Regions from separate parts of the Homo sapiens genome. Here region 2 is linked to region 1. The links are contacts of gene promoters, found by promoter capture Hi-C in blood cells and fetal thymus (Javierre and others, 2016). All regions are on one chromosome and are shown on one strand. Each heading gives the region's core, a stretch centred on a gene start or on the middle of the fragment in contact. The rest is flanking DNA. Distances are from core to core; before and after follow the strand shown. Region 1 holds the start of WNT10A (Wnt family member 10A). Region 2 holds the start of CHPF (chondroitin polymerizing factor).

The links. Contacts are between HindIII fragments. The CHiCAGO score rates a contact against its expected background, and 5 or more counts as called.
Region 2: the fragment with the promoter of CHPF here is called in contact with the fragment with the promoter of WNT10A in region 1 in 1 of 17 cell types (total B cells); the score reaches 5.1 in total B cells.

The regions. Positions count from the first base shown.
Region 1 is chr2:218,879,342-218,882,115 of GRCh38, reverse strand. WNT10A (Wnt family member 10A) reads right to left here and starts at 1,264. Exons shown (of 4, transcript NM_025216.3): 1 at 1,008-1,264. The coding sequence starts at 1,120. RefSeq lists silencers at 1,189-1,328, 1,349-1,558, 1,779-1,838. The HindIII fragment of the contact is 9,483 bases long and covers 1-2,774 here.
Region 2 is chr2:219,542,520-219,545,219 of GRCh38, reverse strand. It overlaps CHPF (chondroitin polymerizing factor), which reads left to right and starts at 1,411. Exons shown (of 4, transcript NM_024536.6): 1 at 1,411-1,995. The coding sequence starts at 1,682. It overlaps TMEM198 (transmembrane protein 198), which reads right to left and starts at 1,192. Exons shown (of 5, transcript NM_001005209.3): 1 at 843-1,192; 2 at 327-531. The coding sequence starts at 492. RefSeq lists silencers at 990-1,129, 1,170-1,879, 1,890-1,979. The HindIII fragment of the contact is 11,388 bases long and covers 1-2,700 here.

The sequences.
Region 1 (2,774 bases), core at 15-2,514:
GGAGAGCCCCATCTAACAACACACACTCTGTCCCAACGGCCATAATCACTCCCTCTTCCAACCTCTGCTTCTGAAGGTTGGGCCCATCAGTACACTCCTACACATTCCTCTCTCCTTGACCTCCTCACAATCATCCTGCCCAGTGCAACTCACTCAGCTAGCTGCACACCCACACAGGTAAGCGTGCAAATGCACACACATCCACCATGCTTGTGGCCACAGTATTTCCTATGCACATCCCCAGGAATAGATGCCCATACACACAGGGTTCCCCACAAGCCCACTCCCACAGATATGTTTCAGTCACATTCACATAGACACACTTCTGCACACATTGTGGTGGACACACAAACCCAACCCCAGCACACTTACGCACATGCACACTTCATCAGACATAGTTACAGACACACACACAAAGACACTCCCATTTACACATGTGTTCATCTTAACATACATTGACCCATGAGCTCTCACATGCACACATGGGCACACATACAAACTACTGTTTACCAACACAGTTTGCTGGGATCCTGGGCTCGATTGAAAACACACACACACACACACACACACACACAGCTCTTGCAGCTGCAGTCTCTCACTGACCCCACCTGGGCTACCCCCTTCCAGCCTCCCAACCCCTGCCCCTACCTGGGGCTGAGCTGCAGGAAGGAGTGAGGCAGCTTGTGCTTACTCCTGAGGTGGGGGTGCATTCCCCCAACAGGGCAGGAACTCCAGACTGGCACTTGCTCCCCCCCCACACACACCTCCCCTCCTAGTTGCCATCATGCTCCTGGGCACTGCCTTGTCTCCCTGGACTGCCCATATCCTGTCACCAGTCCAACCCCCTCCTATGAGGGAGCTCACTGCCTTTGGTTGGGCACCAGCACTTTCCTATGACCCTGTCCCTCCCTTCTTCCAGGGTCCTCTACCCCAGCAAGAGCATCAGAGGCCCCTGCAGGCCGGGGTCCCAACTCTCTAGGAGGGCGGAGCATGAGGTGAGGGCTCACCTGGGCATGGCAGCAGCCAGCAGCAGTAGGAAGAACAGGAGCACCCAGAGCGCTGGCCGCGGCTGGGGCTGGGGTCGGAGCCGCAGCCAGGGGCGAGGGTGGGCGCTGCCCATGGCGCGCAGGCCCTGACGGGCTGGGAGTGGGGGGCTCACAGCCCAGTGGGACTGGAGAGCCAGGGGCGCCGGCGCATGATCGGCGGGGGGTCGGGGCGGCTGCGACACACAGCTCCGACTCGGGTCAGGGCTCCCGGAGCAGACGGCGCCCGCCTCCCCGCTCCATGGGGCAGCACCCCCGGGCACCGCCCTCGGGGGGGGCGGGGGGTGAAGAGCGGGCGAACCGGGCACCTCCTGGCACAGGGGTCCGGGGAATTTCCCGAGGCCCCCCCGCGACAACTCCCGGTGCCTCTCAAGGGTAAGGGGGGCCCGGAGGTGCAGCGGGCTGGGGACGGGAGGCTGGGGTGCCGGGGAACCCTCCAGCGCAGCGCCGGGAGCCTGCGCTTCCGAGGGCGTGCGAGGCTGGCTGGCGGGGGCGGCGCTGTCTGTGTCGGGCCCCACTGCCTGTAGAGTAAGTGACTGTCCCGGCTCGGGGAGCTCTGCCGCCTTCCCTTTCCTCCCCCCACCCCCCCGCCATTTAGTGTCTCAGGGCTCTACCCCACGTGACGTCACGCGGCGGGGCGTGGAGGCGTGTACGAGTCCCGAGGCCACTGCGTCCGCTGGGGACTGGGGGTGGGAGCGTCCCTGCTGAGGGCAACAGAGGGAAAGGTGTTGGGGTCTGTGCGCGCGTGCACAGGAAGATGCCTGTGTGTGGAGCGCGCTGGGTTGTGTGGGGGATATGTGTTACCGCGAGGTGTGTGTGCCTGGCAGAGACGCAGCTGCTGGGGAGCGCCCCCATCCCACCCCAACACACACACCTGCAGGGGCTGGAGGGGAGGGGCTGGCCTCTGTGTTTCGCCTCCTCCGCCAGAGGAGGGACTTCCCCCAGGCCTGCCTGGTGTGAGGCAGGTGTGGGCTCCTGCAGAGGAGTTTGGCAGCCTCTGGTTTCTTCTCCCCTTTGCTGTGTGACCTTAAACAGGTGCCTCCTGCTCCTGCTCACGGAGACCTCCTCTGCCCCTTTGCGGAATGCGGCTCATGGGGACCACCTTGTCTCCTCAGTGAGCCCGGGGAGGCAGCAGTGTCAGGCCCCCAGAAAATGCTTGCGTAGGAGCGCCCGGGGTGGCACGTCCTGGGAGGAGGCGTTAGAGAGACTTTTAACCCTAGAAGTGGCCGTTGAGATAGTTTATTTAGCTCCCCTTTATTTCACAAGAAAATATCGAGGCTCAAAGAGGTCACACAGCAAATTAGCGGAAGAGCGAGAACCGAACGCAGCTCTCCTGACTCCCAGCGCAGCAGCTGCCTCCCCAACACTGAGTGTTGCCTGCCTGTGCCCGCAGATACTCTCAGTCTTGTCCTGGCCCTCCCTGGCCCCACCTGCACATGGTCCTCTAGGAGGTCCCTAATACCAGCCTCCTGGCTCAGGTCTACTTCTCGCTGAGATCTTCCTGTCCCTCCACCCCAACTGAACACTGGGCCCCTCCTCGATATAGTGCAAGTGTGCTGGGCCCAAGCAAGGGCCTGAGAGCCAGAGGGCAGGGGAAAGGCAGCTCTGCCGTCTGTTTCTGGTGCTAGCCTGGGCCCTGATAGTGGATCGTGCTCCTGCCCTGTGCCCTCGGCATCCTCCTCTGTAAAATGGGCACAAGCCTTTACACAAACATGCCCCTCTCTCTGAAGA
Region 2 (2,700 bases), core at 162-2,661, 660 kb before region 1:
AATGCTTACTAATTCTTACAACACTACATGAGACAAATATTGTGATCATTGTTCAGATGAGAAAACTGAGGCTCAGACAGATTAATGTGCCCAAGACATCACAATTAGTAACTGCAAAGCTAAGTAAATTCACACTCAGGTGTGCCTAATCCAAAAACCTGTTTTTCCTATAATCTAGAGTCTAGACAATCTATAAATGTGTGGGATGAAAGAAAAGGAAGAATTATTCATGATGGTAGAGGGATTCAGAGAAGACTTGGGGGCCCAGAAAAAGAACTCGGGGAAACACTGGGGAGCCCAGGTGAGGGATGAGATGGGGATCTCACCGAAGAAGCAGTAGACGACTCCAAACAAACAGCACATGATGCAGACGAGGGCCGGCAGTGCCTGGTACCTGCGCTCCAGGGGCTGTTCACAAGGTGCACCCCAGAAGGCATCATCTGGCTCAGGGGGCAGCAGCTGGAACCGCAGTGTTGCCACAGTCCCCGGCATAGTGCTGGGAATAGAAGGGAGTCACCCTCCCAAGTTAACCTGACAGAGGGAAAGTTGGGGTCACGGAGGAGTCCTGGGTCCCCACCAGGATGGGGGTGGGAGAGGGATTGGGAGAACTCAGCAAGGACAGTGGACAAAGGAATAGTATCCACATTTGTGCAGCTCCGGAAGCATCTCTGGAGTGGGGAGCAAAGACAAAGGGAAACAAAAGTGCCTGGCTAGTGGAGGCTGGGATGAAGTTAAAAGAGGGACGGGAGTCGGGGGGATGAAGGGAGCGTGCTGCCAGTGAGAAGGAGGCAGCCAAGAGATTCATCTGTGGGCGGCTCAATATGGGATTGTCCAAGATTTACCTGGGCTGGAGGCGACCTGAGCTTCTGAGTGAAAGAGGCTGTGCAGAGGCCCGAGGGGCCGGGGTTGCGGGGCGCCAGAGGCTCCAACTGACTGGGGTCCAGGGAAAGTCCGTCGTGCGAGGAAGGGGGCTGCTGGGCCGGAGAGAATGGTGTCGGCGCGGTGGCGGCGCCGCTCCACGTCCAACACCGGCTGGCACTCCAGTCCCGCGGCGTCCGGGAACTCGGGCTGGGCCTGAGGAAGGGGAAGGCGCAGGAGCCGGGGCTCGGGCCGCCCCAGAACCGCGGCCCCATGCCCTGAGCCCGCCCGCGGCCTTTGGTGCTGATGGACAGCTCCGGCCTCTGCTCCTGACGTCACTCAGGGCGCACCATCCAGGCAGGGGCGGGCTGCTTCTGACGTCACATGGGACGCACCAACCACGCCGCGGGAGGCAGGGGACTCCGCCCCCGGCGTCTCCCTCTCCCGCACTGAGGAGGGGGCACTTCCGGGGGTCCTTCCCCTTTAACCTCCCCCTTCTCCTCCCTCTCCGGTAGCGAGAGCCCGAGACCCCACCCCGGGGGCGGGGCCCTTGCAGTGACACGTCGGACAGCTGCGGCCGCGGCTGAGGCTCCAGTGCCGAGCGCAAGAACCCTGCGCAGCCCAGAGCAGCTGCTGGAGGGGAATCGAGGCGCGGCTCCGGGGATTCGGCTCGGGCCGCTGGCTCTGCTCTGCGGGGAGGGAGCGGGCCCGCCCGCGGGGCCCGAGCCCTCCGGATCCGCCCCCTCCCCGGTCCCGCCCCCTCGGAGACTCCTCTGGCTGCTCTGGGGGTTCGCCGGGGCCGGGGACCCGCGGTCCGGGCGCCATGCGGGCATCGCTGCTGCTGTCGGTGCTGCGGCCCGCAGGGCCCGTGGCCGTGGGCATCTCCCTGGGCTTCACCCTGAGCCTGCTCAGCGTCACCTGGGTGGAGGAGCCGTGCGGCCCAGGCCCGCCCCAACCTGGAGACTCTGAGCTGCCGCCGCGCGGCAACACCAACGCGGCGCGCCGGCCCAACTCGGTGCAGCCCGGAGCGGAGCGCGAGAAGCCCGGGGCCGGCGAAGGCGCCGGGGAGAATTGGGAGCCGCGCGTCTTGCCCTACCACCCTGCACAGCCCGGCCAGGCCGCCAAAAAGGCCGTCAGGTAGTGATCGGCTGCGCCCGCTCTACCCCCTGGGCAGCGGCCGGGAAGCGCGCGGGGAGGTCGCCCGGGCCCGGGTCAGGCTCCGGAAGGAAGGGGCTGGCGAGCCAGGAAGTCTTTGGGCCCCGATAACTTCCGATGGCCCTGCCTTCCCGAGAGCCGTGGGGCCAGTCCGAGACTTTCTCTGGGCCCTATCCCGGCCTGGGCTGAACTTACTGGACTGTGTCCTAAACCGGCTCGACCCGATGGCGCCCCAGAGATCCTACTAGCTCCCTGGCTGGGCTGCTGGTGTTAGAGAAATGACTTATATATAGGGTGAGTGTATAGAGACAGGGGAAGAGAAAGGAGAGAACTAGGATTTACCTGGATCTCTTGTTCCTGAGTGGGTTACAAGGGCCACCTCAGGGTGAGATGGGGGAGGGAGGAATGTACCTATCTCATTAATGTCTCTGCTGATGAGTTGAAATAACTTCTAAGTAACATTGGGTTCAAATGCTGGTTCTGCAATTTACCTTCTGCCTTACCAAAAGGTAAGTTCCTAGAGCCCCTGAGTGCAGTTTGCCCCTCCCCGCAAAAACACTCAGTACACCCCTATGCCAAACGTTCCTTTATGTCATTTATGTGAGGCATTTGTGGCATAATGGCATATTTATATAGAAATGAGTAGATACATGGTGTGTCCAGCGTTTGGCTGGGTGCTTTAAACAG